Regions from separate parts of the Homo sapiens genome. Here region 1 is linked to region 2. The links are contacts of gene promoters, found by promoter capture Hi-C in human tissues and cell types (Jung and others, 2019). All regions are on one chromosome and are shown on one strand. The core of a region is centred on a gene start or on the middle of the fragment in contact, and the rest is flanking DNA. Distances in the headings are between cores, read along the strand shown.

Region 1 (6,738 bases), core at 385-2,884, 83 kb before region 2:
AAGATGGGCATTATATAATGGTAAAGGGTTCAACAAGAAGAGCTAATTATCCTAAATATATATGCACCCAATACAGGAGCCCCCAGATTCATAAAGCAAGTTCTTAAAGATCTAAAAAACGACTTAGACTCCCACACAATAATAATAGGAGACTTTAACACCCCACTGACAATATTAGACAGATCATCAAGACAGAAAGTTAACTTTCTGAAAATATTCAGGACCTGAACTCAGCCCTGGATAAAGTGACCTTATAGATAGCTACAGAACTGTCCCCCCAAAAACAAAAGAATATAAATTCTTCTCATCACCACATGGCACTTTGTCTAAAACTGATCACATAATCGGAAGCAAAACACTCCTCAGCAAATGCATAAGAACTGAAATCATAACAAACAGTCTCTTACACCACAGCACAATCAAATTAGAACTCAAGATTTAAACATTCACTGAAAACCACACAACTATATGGAAATTGAACAACCTGCTCCTGAATGACTCTTGGGTAAATAATGAAATTAAGGTAGAAATCAAGAATTATTTGAAACTAATGAGAACTAAGAGATAACATATCAGAATCTGGGATGCAGCTAAAGCATTGTTAAGAGGGAAATTTATAGTACTAAATGCCCACATCAAAAAGCTAGAAAGATCTCAGGTTAACAACCTAACATCTCAACTAAAAGAACTAAAAAATCAAGAGCAAACAAACCTCAAAGCTAGCAGAAGACAAGAAATAGCCAAGATCAGAGCTGAACTGAAGAGATAGAGACACAAAAACCCCTTCAAAAAATCAAATCCAGGAGCTGGTTTTTTGAAAAAATTAATAAAATAGACTGCTAGCTAGACTAGTAAAGAAGATAATAGAGAATAATCAAATGAACAATCTGAAATGATAGGGGAATATCACCACTGAACCCACGGAAATATAAACGATCATCAGAGAATGCTATAAACACCTCTATGCACATAAAGTGGAAAATCTAAAAGAAACTGATAAATTCCTGGACACATACGCTCTCCCAAGACTGAACCAGAAAGAAACTTATAAAAACCCTAGATGAGGGCTAGACACAGTGGCTCACGTCTGAATCCCAGCACTTTCGGAGGCCAATGGGGGCAGATCACTTGATGTCAGGAGTTCAAGACCAGCCTGGGGCCAACATGGTAAAACCCTGTCTCTACTAATATAATAATTAGCCAGGCATGATAGTGGGTGCCTATAACCCCAGCTACTTGAGAGACTGAGGAAGGAGAACCGCTTGAGCCTGGGAGGCGGAGGTTGCAGTGAGCCAAAATCAAGCCACTATACTCCAGTCTGGGCGATGAAGTGCGACCCTGTCTCAAAAACAAAAACAAAAAAAACCCTGGAAGAAAATCTAGGCAATGCCATTCAGGACACAGGCACAGGAAGGATTTCATGACGAAAATGCCAAAAGCAATTGCAACAAAAGCAAAAATTGATAAATGAGATTTAATTAAACTGAAAAGCTTATGCACAGCAAAAGAAACTATCATCAGAGTGAACAGACAACCCTACAGAATGGGAGAAAAATTTTGCAGTCTATCCATCCAACAAAGGATAATAGTGGAGAAGACCCAAGAACTCCCAGGAAGAAGAGAGAAAGAAGTGTGATTTAAAATGGCCTGGAACTATTCCGTAGCAGTACTGGAAGCTAGAAAGCAACGGGGCTTTCCGAGCCAGGGGGAAATTGAATCCCTGAATAGACTAGAAATGTGTTGTGAAATTGAGGCAATAATATCCTACCAAGTAAAAAAAAAAAAAAAAAAAAAAAAAAAAGTAGCCCAGGACCAGATGGATTCACAGCTGAATTCAACCAGAGGTACAAAGAAGAGCTGGTACAATTTCTCTCTCTCTCTTTTTTTTTTTTTTTTTTTTGAGACAGAGTTTCATTCTTGTTGCCCAGGCTGGAGTGCAATGTCACTGCAATGGCAGCATCTCAAACATTAAAAGGAAATTATTTCCAAACTAATTCTTTTGTTTTTTTTTTTTTGAGACTACAGTTTTATTATTACTCAAATCAGTTTCCCCGAGCATTTGGCGATTTTTTTTTTAAATTTGGTGTGTGTGGGGCTCTAGACTAGAATTCTGTGCTCTGTTCCACATGACTTCTGTACAGAGAAAACCTTTTTTCACACATGTAGATTTTTAAAAAATTTAACTACTACTCTCCCTTTGTAAGGAAAAACTAGAGGAGAGAATGAACTAAAAGTGAGAAAGAAGGAAATAGGGTGCTCCACATCCGAGACAGGCAGAGGAAGACACAGGTTCTGCCTGCCAAGAGAGCATCCACCAATACCAGAGCAGAGGGCAGGGCCCCGGGAGAGAGGGTAGACCAGGGACTCATTTCTTTTGCTGGACGGTGTGGAAGAGTGTTAACTAGGGATAGGTACATGCCGGTGAAGCAAATGAAACGAGGCAATTAGGATTCTCAAGGAAATTTTGAAGAAGGAAGCTTTACTTTATAATATAAAAAAAGTAGTTAAATTCACTATAGCTCAGCTTGTGAGCAATGCTTACATGACCATTAATATAAATACTGAATTTAAAATTTACCAACAATTAGGAGAGTGTGGGGAGGGGTAGGTGTGAGGTATTGGCAGTGACAGATGTTGAGGAGGCAAGATTTCAAAGTGGAGAATGTGCTAGCTGTCATAAATGTGCTTTTCAGAAATACGGGTGAATGAATGGATGCATGAGAGTAAATCCCAGAAAGGCAGCCAAGAGAGGTGAAGCTGGTTCTGTCTGAGGAAGAGGACTTGATGTGGAGTGGGTGACCCTGACCTGGCAGTTTGTTTCCAGTCGTGTAGTCTATATGGCATTTTCAGATATGCCCTGGATTATTGGATGAATATGAAAATGAAAACAGTAGATTTTAGCATTCCACAGCTAACTGTGCAGGTTTAAAAGTGTTGTCTTAAAGTCTGTCAAGTCAGGGTGCAGTAGATGAAAGCTGTGATTGTCCTTGGATTTTCTATTTATTTCTCCTTTTATCATGGTGGTCAAGACCCTGGGATATACAGTTGGCCCTCCATATCCGCAGGAAAATAAACGATAAAAAACAATACAGGCTGGGCGCGGTGGCTCACACCTGTAATCCCAGAACTTTGGGAGGCCAAGGCTGGTAGATCACCTGAGGTCACAAGTTCGAGACCAGCCTGGCCAACATGGTGAAACCCCATCTCTACTAAAAATACAAAAATTAGCCAGGTGTGGTGGCAGGTGCCTGTAATGCCAGCTACTCAGGAGGCTGAGGTAGGAGAATCGCTTGAATCCAGGAGGCCGAGGTTACAGTGAGCCAAGATCGCACCATTGCACTCCAGCCTGGGCAACAAGAGCGAAACTCTGTCTCAAAACACACACACACACATATATGTGTCTGTGTAATTTTTTAAAAAATACAAATTTAACACAGTACAGTAAAACTATGTGACGTTTACATTGTATTAGGTACATAAGTAATCTAGAAATGATTTTATTAAAGTATACAGGAAGCCCAGCGTGGTAGCTCAAGCCTGTAATCCCAGCACTTTGGAAGGTCAAGGCAAGAGAATCACCAGAGCTCGGGAGACCAGCCTTAGCAGCAAAGCAAGACCTCATCTCTACAAAAATTGTAGGTTTTTTTGTAGAGATGGTGTGTGTAGGTTATATGCAAATACTACACCATTTTCTATCAGAGCCTCAAGATTTATAGATTGGGGTACTGGGGTAGAGGGTCCTGGAACCAATCCCCTACAGATACCAAGAGACAGCTGTAGAAATTTCTTATTTTGACCAGAAGGGATTGAACAAGCAGCTGGAGCAGTTATTTGGGGGCCTCTGAGCTATTGTTGGCCCACTTCTTGGGAGGGCTTCATCTCTTACCTCCGTGGCAGGCCCTCGGTTTTTTGTTTTGTTTTTGAGATGGAGTCTCACTCTGTCGCCCAGGTGGGAGTACAGTGGCGCGATCTCAGCTCACTGCAACCTCCGCCTCCCAGCTTCAAGCGATTCTCCTGCCTCAGCCTCCCGAGTAGCTGGGACTTAGAGGCGCCTGCCACCACGTCTGGCTAATTTTTTGTATTTTTAGTAGAGGCGGGGTTTCACTGTGTTAGCCAGGATGGTCTCGATCTCCTGACCTCGTGATCCGCCCGCCTTGGCCTCCCAAAGTGCTGGGATTACAGGCATGAGCCACCACGCCCAGCCTAGGCCCTCGGTTTTTTAAGACTCTGTCCTGGATATATAAATAATATCTAGAACTGGGGCTATGGGGATTTTGTTTCCTTTTGTTGATGTTTTGTTTTGCTTTGTTTTTGAGAATACAATTTAGGACAGAAATTTTGAGAATGTAGTTGAAAATCCTCCAATATTTTACTTTTTTTTTTTTTTTTTTGAGACGGAGTCTCCCTTTGTCGTCCAGGCTGGAGTACAGTGGCGCAGTCTCTGCTCACTGCAACCTGCGCCTCCTGGGTTCAAATGATTTTCCTGCCTCAGCCTGCTGAGTAGCTAGGATTACAGGCACTGGCCACCATGTCCAGCTAATTTTTTTTTTTTTTTAATTCCTGACCTCAGGTGATCTGCTCACCTCAGCCTCCCAAAGTGCTGGGATCACAGGCGTCAGCCACAGCACCTGGCCTTCAATATTTTACTTTCAGTAGAAATTAGAACGACTTAGTGTTGGGGCAATATTTTGGGAACTAGGAAGCTTAAGTCCTCATTTAGACCCTAATGTTTGTATCTTGGCTTTGAGAACATCTAACTCAGGATTTTTTTTTTTTTAATTGAGATAAAATGTGTATGCCATAAAATTCACCATGTTGAAGTATACAATTCAGTTGTTTTAGGATACTTACACAGTTGTATGACCGTCACTACTATCTAATTTCAGAACGTTTTCATCATCCCAAAAAGAGACCCTCATACTCTTTAGCAGTTACTCCGCCAGCCCCCAGCAACCACTGGTATCCAGAACAGGCACCCATCAGGATATTCCCTCTCTATGGATTTCCCTATTTTAGATATTTCATATAAGTGGGATCATACAAACATGCGGTCTGTTGTGTGTAGTGTTTCCTTGTTTCCAGGTTCACTCATGTGGTAGCATGTATCAGTGTTTTACTCCTTATGGCTAAAGGGGTTTGTTTTTTCCTTTGGAGCTGTCTCTGAGGGGACTGTGTCCCTAACCTTGCTGCCTCTTACACTGAGTTTGCAGGTAAGAGTAAATGTTGGTAACATCAAACGTATAGTCGCTGAAATGCCCAAGCAGTGTCTCAGACGTTTTTAAAATTTTATTTTGAAACCATTTCAAGCTTATAGAAAAGCTACACAAACAGCACAGAAAGGTCCTGCTGGCCTTTACCTGAGATGCCCGTCTGCCTTTAACTGGTTGTCTCAGTGTTGTTTACTACAGAAGGTCCAATCTAGGAGCAAATGCTGTACCCAGGCATTATGTCTCTCTGGTCTCTGCAATCTGGAACATTCTTCCTCCTTTCCTTGGTTTTCATGACCTTGACATTTTGGAAGATTACAGGGCAGTCATTTTGTAGAATGTTTATGATATGGGATTGTGCAGTGCTTCCCCAGGATCAGACCCTGGGCTCACTGCCTAGGTGAGAAACTCCCAGAGTGATGATGCGTCCTGATTCATGTGGCACATAGGGTCCATCTGTCCCATTGGTGGTGGTGGTGGTAACATTGATCACTTGGTCAAGATGATGTTTGCCAGCTTTTCTGTATACAAAGTTGTTTTTGACTAGGTAGTGGCTCATGCCTATAGTCCCAACAGAGGCTGAAGCAGGAGGATCACTTGAGGCCAGGTGTTTGAGACCAGCCTGGGCAACATAGCAAGACCCCATCTCTACAAAAGGTCCTGCTGGCCTTTACCTGAGATGCCCATCTGCCTTTAACTCGTTAAACAAGAAAAAATTAAAAATAGAAAATTAGCCAGGATTGGTATCAGGTGCCTGTATTCCCAGCTGCTCCAGAGGCTGAGACAGGATGATTGCTTAAGCCCAGGAGTTTGAGACTCCTTATCTCTTAAGGAAAGAAAGGTTACTTTTTGTCCTTTGTTACTAAGTATTTTGTGGAGCGATACTTTGAGACTAAGTAAATATCTTGTACCTCATCACACTCATCTTCTAGTTAGATCACTATGATGGTTGCCCAATGATGACTCTTTAAATCCCATTCTTCCTACTACTGGAAGGAAGAGTTTTCTCTCCATTTATTTAGTTTATGTCACTGTGGATTCATAGATTCAAATCTGATACTTGATAATCTGTTGGTTTCATTATTTATTTTTATCTTTAACTTTCCCACATTTGGCCCAAGGGAGACTCTTCAAGCTGCCTCTTGTGTCCTTCTCACATGTCCTTTCATTTTATGAACACTTCTTTGCTTTCTTACAGAATAAGACATGCCAGGCTTGTTTTGTACTTTGCCTGCTTCACTGTGGAGTCAGCCATTTCCCCACAGAGCCCAGCCGTTTTAGTGAAGACTGGTATTTAGAGACCAAGATCCATGCACTCAGTGTGCCCATTGCTTTGTGGGGTATCACCACTTCTGGCCCTCTCAACAGACAATGCTACACACATGTACATATACCCACTCACCTCATATATCTATATTTACCTCTATATCTGTGTCTGTATCTGCTGAAACCAGGAATTCCCATCATTCGCTCCTGTTACACTCTAGCACTGTGTTCTAGCTTCAGTGAGAAACCTGACTCTACTCCCTGC
Region 2 (6,704 bases), core at 3,573-6,072:
GACAGGTCCTTGGGTGGGGGTGCCCTGCACGTTCCTGGGCCTGCGGAGACCGTGCCCACCAAGAAGGATGGGGTACACCACACACAGCCCTCACACTCACCCCCTGGACACCTGTGTGCTGGGTCCACCCCAGGCCTAAGCCCAGCGGAGGAGCTGGCTGAAGCCAACTGGACATCGCACCAGCCTGAGGCGACACTTCCGTGTGAAACTGCCAATTAGCTGACCTCCCAGGGTTCCTAACCAGGAGGGTGGAAGGGGCGGCACACAGGCCCCCACCTTGAAACATGCCGCTGCACATCCCTTTTTGAGTGCCAGACCTCGAGGTGACTGGAACTCTGGGGAAGGAAAGGCAGTTAGGGGAGGGCCAGAGGCCACCTAACCTTTCCCTGCAAGGCTGGCTTGTCAAGGCCCGGGGGTGTGCAGGTGGCCTCCATGCAGCAGCTAGAGCAGGCCAGCTGCAGTGTACACACAGACCCTTGCTTAGCCCAAAGGTCTGGCCAGTTGAGACAGCTGGTCGAGTCAAAAGTGACCTTTCTCATTCTCTCATCAGTACAGCAGCCCAGTCCTAAAGCCAGTACCCATGGAGGAAACAGCAGGGGGTGCCTTGAGCCCACCTGCTACCAGGAGTCCCCAAAGCCAAGGTCAAGAAACTCGGCAGGATAGAGAGAGCTGAGTACTGCCTGGGGTCATTCCGGTCAAGGTGAGCTGTGTCTGCCCCCAGCCCCATCACTGCTGCTGACCATGTGTTCTAAAGAGAAGCCAGGAAAAATTCAAAGCTGACAAGTCACAGGTGCTCAGCTGTCTCCGGGTTGAGGGTGGGTGGCACAGATGAGGTGAGAACCAGCCCCTATCTGAAAGGAAAGTCAACCCAGAACATGCAATCTTTTTTTGAGATGGGGGGTCTCGCTGTGTGCCCAGGCTGGTCTCCTCAGCCTCCTGAGTAGCTGGGCCCACAAGTGCATGTCAAAGCATAAGCTCATCAGCCCACTGGCTGTCATAGGTAAGCAGTCAGTGTTAAAATATCACCCTCCTGCCATAGAGAGCATCATCTCCGTTTCCTCCTCCCTGTTTGCTCCATTTCTGGTGGAGGACCACCCGTTCCTAGCCCAGTCCTGGATGCCAGGTGCAGGACAAGGTTAAGAAGCAGCCCCTCTTCTTTTTCTTTTTTTTTTTGAGATAGAGTCTCACTCTGTTGCCCAGGCTGGAGTGCAGTGGCGTGATCTCGGCTCACTGCAACCTCCGCCTCCCAGGTTCAAGCGATTCTTCCACCTCAGCCTCCCGAGTAGCCGGACTTACAGGCACCCGCCATCATGCCCCGTTAATTTTTTTTTTTTTTGAATTTTTGTAGAGACAGGGTTTCACCATGTTGGCCAGGCTAGTCTCGAACTCCTGACCTCAGGTGATCTGCAGAAGCAGCCCCTCTTCTGCCTGCTCCTCCTCCAGCAGGCCCAACGCCACCTTGTCAAATCCTCCCTGTTTGCTCAGCCCATCAACGCTTACTCGGGGCCCTGGGACGCTGCTCCACCGAGCCGTTAGCCTGTAGGCCTGGCCTCAGCCTCAACCCAACCCTGCCCAAGCACCCGGAAAGACCCCAAGGGAGTCCTCCTGGGGATTCCAGAGGTCTGTTGGTGCCCTGAGCTTGTGTCCTCCCATCTACTCCTGTCTAAGGTGGCCTGAGAGAGGGCCTGGAGAAAGCAGGGCCATGACCTGGCAGCATTACCCAGCACCACCACCCCTCCGACTCTTCAGGCCTCTCTGGATGACGCGTCCTCCCGCCCTGCTCTACTCCCTGCTCCCTGCTGAGGCCATGCTGCTCTCCACACAGGGCCTGGAGCTGAATCTGCTCCATCACAGCAGCCCCGGTAGGGAAACCCCTGGGTGGGCACTCAGACCTCTACTGCTTCACAGCAGGGGAGCACAGCGGACCCCTAAGCCAGAGCCAGGGCTCATCAGCCCAAGCAGAAACTGTGTGACAGGAACCCTCTTGGCTGTGATCCTGGCCCTACAATGACATCGCAGGCCAAGCCAAGGCAAGCCATCCCCACCCCCACCTGGAGAAGAAAGGGTAAGTGGGCCCCTGGCCTGGAGGCTGCGAATCCTCTTTTGGATGTAGCAGCAGCTGTGGCCTGGATGATCACTCGGGCCACTCAGCTGACTCGAGCGGTGGACACCTGTTCTCCACATTAGCCCTGGGGCTGCCAGGTCTGGGGCCTCCACTTGCCAATGTGTCTGCTGTCAGTGTTGCCCCACAAAACAAGGGGAATGACCCAGCACACATAGCTGAGTGGTGATACAGTGCTCTGGCACCCCACAGCCATTCGGGCCCTCCAGGGCCAGGCAGGAACTGGCCAGGTAGAGGGGAGAAGTCTAAGGCAGGAGCACAGGCTATGGGGGGAACGCGCCCCACTCTCCCACAAAGGGGCTGCCCCACAGGTCCACAGGACACCATGGCAACCATCTCAGGAGAAAACCACAGCCCCTCAGGTTTTCTGCCACTATATGAAGTCAAGTCTCTCATCATCCAGGCTGGGACAAAGGGATCCCTAAAAGGACAAAAGGAGCTTCCTACCTTTGGAATCCCTTCTCCAATGTGCCCGCACTCCCTTCCCTGTGTGCGATCGCACCAAGAACCAATAGCACACAGTTACAGGGCACCTCGGAGCTCCAATTTCTCATCCTGTGACCCAAAGGAGTTATTTCTGCAGTTCTTAAAAATAAACTGGTGGCCGAGCGCGGTGGCTCATGCCTGTAATCCCAGCACGTTGGGAGGCCAGGGCAAGCAGATCACCTGAGGTCAGGAGTTTGAGACCAGCCTGACCAACATGGTGAAACTCCGTCTCTACTAAAAATACAAAATTAGCTGGGCATGGTGGCGCATGCCTGTAATCCAAGCTACTTGGGAGGCCAAGACAGGAGAATCGCTTGTACTTGGGAGGCAGAGGGTGCAGTGAGCTGAGATTGCACCATTGCACTCCAACCTGGGCAACAAAAGCGAAACTCCGTCTCAAAAAAATAAAAATAAAGTAAAATAAACTGGTGGCAGATTTTTCTCCCAGCACCTTAGTCATGTAAGTTACCAGATACAGAATGCCAAAAGCAAACCAAAAATCTGTTAGCTTAATTCAGCAACAGTCAGCAAGCCCCAGTCTCATCTGTGACCACGCAGGTCCAGGTTGCCTGGCCCAACAGCTGCACATGGTGTTCCGGGTCTCTAGGCTGGTCCGGTTTCCTCCAAAGCAGCCCTGACTCCAGTTCCTGCCCCTACGCGAACAGACGCCCTTCCTGTTCCACTGCAGGCCCAACTCTCCATTCAGCACATAGGAGTGAACAAGGAGGGCCACACATTTTAGCGGCGATTCCAACGCCTTAGGTAGAGCCAAGGCATCAAGGAGAATAAAACCGAACAGCTAAGATGTAAGAAAACCCAGCGGCCAGAGTCAAAAAAGTGGGGAGGGGTAGAGAATGCAAGTCCCCAGGCCCCAGGTTGGCTGACCCCACCCTCCTTCCCCGGCAAGCCCTTTGGCACCAGCAGCTGGTCCTCATTCCAGGCTAAGGGCTCGCCGTAGTGGCTCCCTCCGAGGCTGTCCCACCAGACGCTTAAAGGTGGCTCCATAGTGGAAACGACTTCTTTAAAGAAGAAAGATGAGTCTCATGTTCGGGCAACCGCCCGTCGCAGGGGTTAAACGGTCCTGACAGAGCAGCCTTTTCACCCTCCCCTGGGCCAAAGCACACACGTGTTCTCTGCTTTCCCTGCACACCGGCCACTCAGATCTGCTTCTCCACAATCTCAGCCCCTCAGCGCCCGCCAGGGTCTCCCCTACAGCCCCTGCCCAGCCCAACACGGCCAGAATGACCCGCGGCCCAGGCCGAGGCCGCAGGGTGGCCCCCGACCTTCCACTGCCTTCGGATGCTGACATGAGGTTCCCGCCCCGCGCTGGGGGCAGCGCCCCGTCCCTGCGCCGGTGTCTCTTCACGCACCTCCACCGCCCTCGCACAGGCGGAGCCACCAGGGGCTCGGTTTCTAGAGGCCTGCGAGCTTCTGCCACGCAAAACGCCACAGGCACACGGCAGAGCCCCGGGGCCGCCCTGCGCCCACCTCAGGACGGCTCCGCTGGTCGCACGACGCGCGCTCCTTCCCTCACCCCACTGCCCGCTCCGGCGTGGCGCTCCCCTCTGAACCCCCAGGAGACTCTGGAGCCCCTCGGTGAGAGGCCGCTAGTCTTCCTGACCTGCACCCTTCTCACCTGGTTGGCAAATCCCCGGAGGTGAGCCATGGCCGCGCCGCCTCAGACCCTCCGCCAGCAGCCCCAGGAGGCGTCTGGATCCCGCGGAGAGGCGCGGAGCCGGCTAGCTCGCCCCTGCGGCGTCAGTCCACTGCGAGGGACACCAGGGGCGCTCGGTGCCCAGTTCAGTCATCTGAGACCGACCTCCGGGGCGGCGGGCTCCATGGGTGGGGGGGGGCCCAGGAGACCCCCCAGGCCGCCGGGGCCCCGCCACGCCCGGGCCTAACGCCCAGGCTCCCGGGGGCTCGCCGCCCCTCCCGTCGCCGCCCCCACCTCTTCCAAGGCAGCTTCCTCCCGGTGCCCCCGCCCCGGTGTCCCCGCCACCGAGCCCCGCCCCGGGCCCCTCCCTCTGCCCCCTCCCCAATCGCCGCAAGCGCCCCGCCCGGCAGCGCGCCCACCTCCGCGGGGCTCCATCCCGGCCTCCCCCGGCCCGCTCTGCAGCGCCCGCGAAGGCTCCCACCCGCAGCCTCTGTTCGCCCGGGGACCCCGGGCCTCCCAGCCCGCGAAGCAACGGTGGTGGCGGCAGCGACCGGAGAAAGCCCGGAGGCGACGGCGAGGGCGGTGCTCGGCGTCGCGGCCCGCGCACGGCTCTCTGGGACCCCGAGTCCCACCGCCCACTCCGGGCCCGGAAGCCTGCTGGCGTTGGACTACAAGTCCCGGCAGGCTGCGCGAGAGGGGGCCGGGGCTCGCATGCGCGCCGCGAGGCTCTCTGGGACCCCTAGTCCTGCTCCCGAAAGGTTTGGACTGCGTCTCCCGGCAGGCCGCGCGCCTGGGCGGGCGGGGCACGTGGTCGTTGTCGCGTCGCGCCCTCCCTGCCTCGCCCTCGCGGGTCTTCTGCGTTTGCTGGCGCCTGCCAGGCGTCGTCTCCGACGTTACGGCGGCCGCGCGGCCCTCTCCCTTGGGCTCTGCCCTGCGCAGCCCTGGTTCGAGCGGGCCAGTGAGGCCCGGCGCCCTCCCCGCCTCGCCACGAGGATCCACCGCGGCCGCCCAGGCTTCTAGCCTTGTCGTCACGGCACGGAGATAAGCCCGCGCTGGCCACATCGCGAAGCCCCTGTTCGTACTGAGACCCCGCCCGGGATCACGCGCACAGGCCAGGGCGCACCAGGCCTTGGAGAAGCTACCGGCACAGCCCATTCCTTGGGCGAGTTGCTTCGCCTCTCCTGCCTCAGTTTCCTTACCTGTCAAGGGGTGGTCATAGGACGTCCTTGGTCACACCGTTGTGGGACCCACCTGGGCTAGAGCGCGGGACGCGCCCAGGACAGTGACTGCTGCTGGAAGCCGTCATGGCACTCCCCAGGGTCCGGGAGGGACTTGCAGATCCCAAGGCTACCTGGTGCGTCCCCGTGCCCCGTGGGCCGCCAGGTCATAGTGCCCCCTGTGTGCATTCCCCTAGTGCACCGCAGGGATCCCCACCTGTCCGGTGAGGAAGATTTGTCCCTCCTGCATACTGTGTCCACCCTTACAGGCCCTCACTCTCCATGATGGCTCAGCACAGGTGACTATCCTGACCTCCTCACATCCCTCCTTCTTCGAGAGGGTTCTGGCGTTTCTCTCTGCTCCCTGGTGCGTGTCTTCTCATGGTGCACTGCCGAGTCCTTTAAGAAGCTATGCTTCCCTGTCATGCGTCCAGGACAGCCCCTTGAACCCCTCCTGGGTCCGCATCTCTCATCACCCCTGCTTCTTTACGTACTGACTTGGCTTTGTTTGTGCTTTGACTCCCCAGGAGAAAGTGGGCTTCCTGCAAGCGGAGCTGTGCCCAGGACCATGCCAGCCCACGGCAGGCGCTCAGTAATGTTTGTTGAATGAATGTGTAAATGCATGAAGATAATATATGTATTTAATGCATGTAAATAGATGCCTGCTGCATCTCTGGCCTTCGTGTGGTCAGTAATCGCTGCACTTTTCCGAAGTGCCTAGAAGAGGCTGGGAGCAGTGGCTCACACCTGTAATCCCAGCACTTTGGGAGGCTGAGGCAGGCAGATCACTTGAGGTTGGGAGTTCGGGGCCAGCCTAGCCAACATGGTGAAACTTCATCTCTACTAAAAATACAAAAATTAGCCAGGCATGGTAGTGCGTGCCTGTAGTCCCAGCTACTAGGGAGGCTGAGTCAGGAGAATCGCTTGAACCTGGGAGTTGGAGGTTGCTGTGAGTCAAGATCATGCCACAGTACTCCAGCCTGGGAGACCGAGCAAGGCTCTGCCTCAAAAAACAAATTAATAAAAGTGCCTAGAAGAGTTTTTCAGCCTTTGCCTGCTTTTGGCCAATTGTTAACCCTTTGCTCCTGGCTGCTGTCTTGCTAAGCTGCCGTCCGGACGTGATCATCACCATGTCTTTTCCTGCATTGACCTTCCAGGCCCTTCATCCCGTTTCTCTTGTTTTCCATTTCTTTTTTGTTGTTGTATACTTCTGTTATTCTTCGGG

The links. The method cuts DNA at HindIII sites, captures the fragments that hold promoters and counts their contacts. A contact is called where the count stands out against the background at its distance.
Region 1: a contact is called between a fragment that was not itself captured here and the fragment with the promoter of STK25 in region 2, in 3 of the 25 tissues and cell types used here (IMR-90 fibroblasts, bladder and pancreas).

The regions. Positions count from the first base shown.
Region 1 is chr2:241,423,862-241,430,599 of GRCh38, forward strand. All of the region lies in intron 8 of FARP2 (FERM, ARH/RhoGEF and pleckstrin domain protein 2), which reads left to right. Among named protein-coding and RNA genes, the nearest start is that of MIR3133, 51 kb to the right of the region's middle. The HindIII fragment of the contact is 3,912 bases long and covers 1-3,590 here.
Region 2 is chr2:241,503,762-241,510,465 of GRCh38, forward strand. It overlaps STK25 (serine/threonine kinase 25), which reads right to left and starts at 4,823. Exons shown (of 12, transcript NM_001271977.2): 1 at 4,682-4,823; 2 at 4,245-4,374. The coding sequence starts at 4,274. LOC107985788 (a long non-coding RNA gene) reads left to right here and starts at 5,111. Exons shown (of 2, transcript XR_001739177.2): 1 at 5,111-5,336; 2 at 5,677-6,134. RefSeq lists enhancers at 1,956-2,492, 3,648-3,697 and silencers at 4,128-4,177, 4,458-5,227. The HindIII fragment of the contact is 21,130 bases long and covers 1-6,704 here.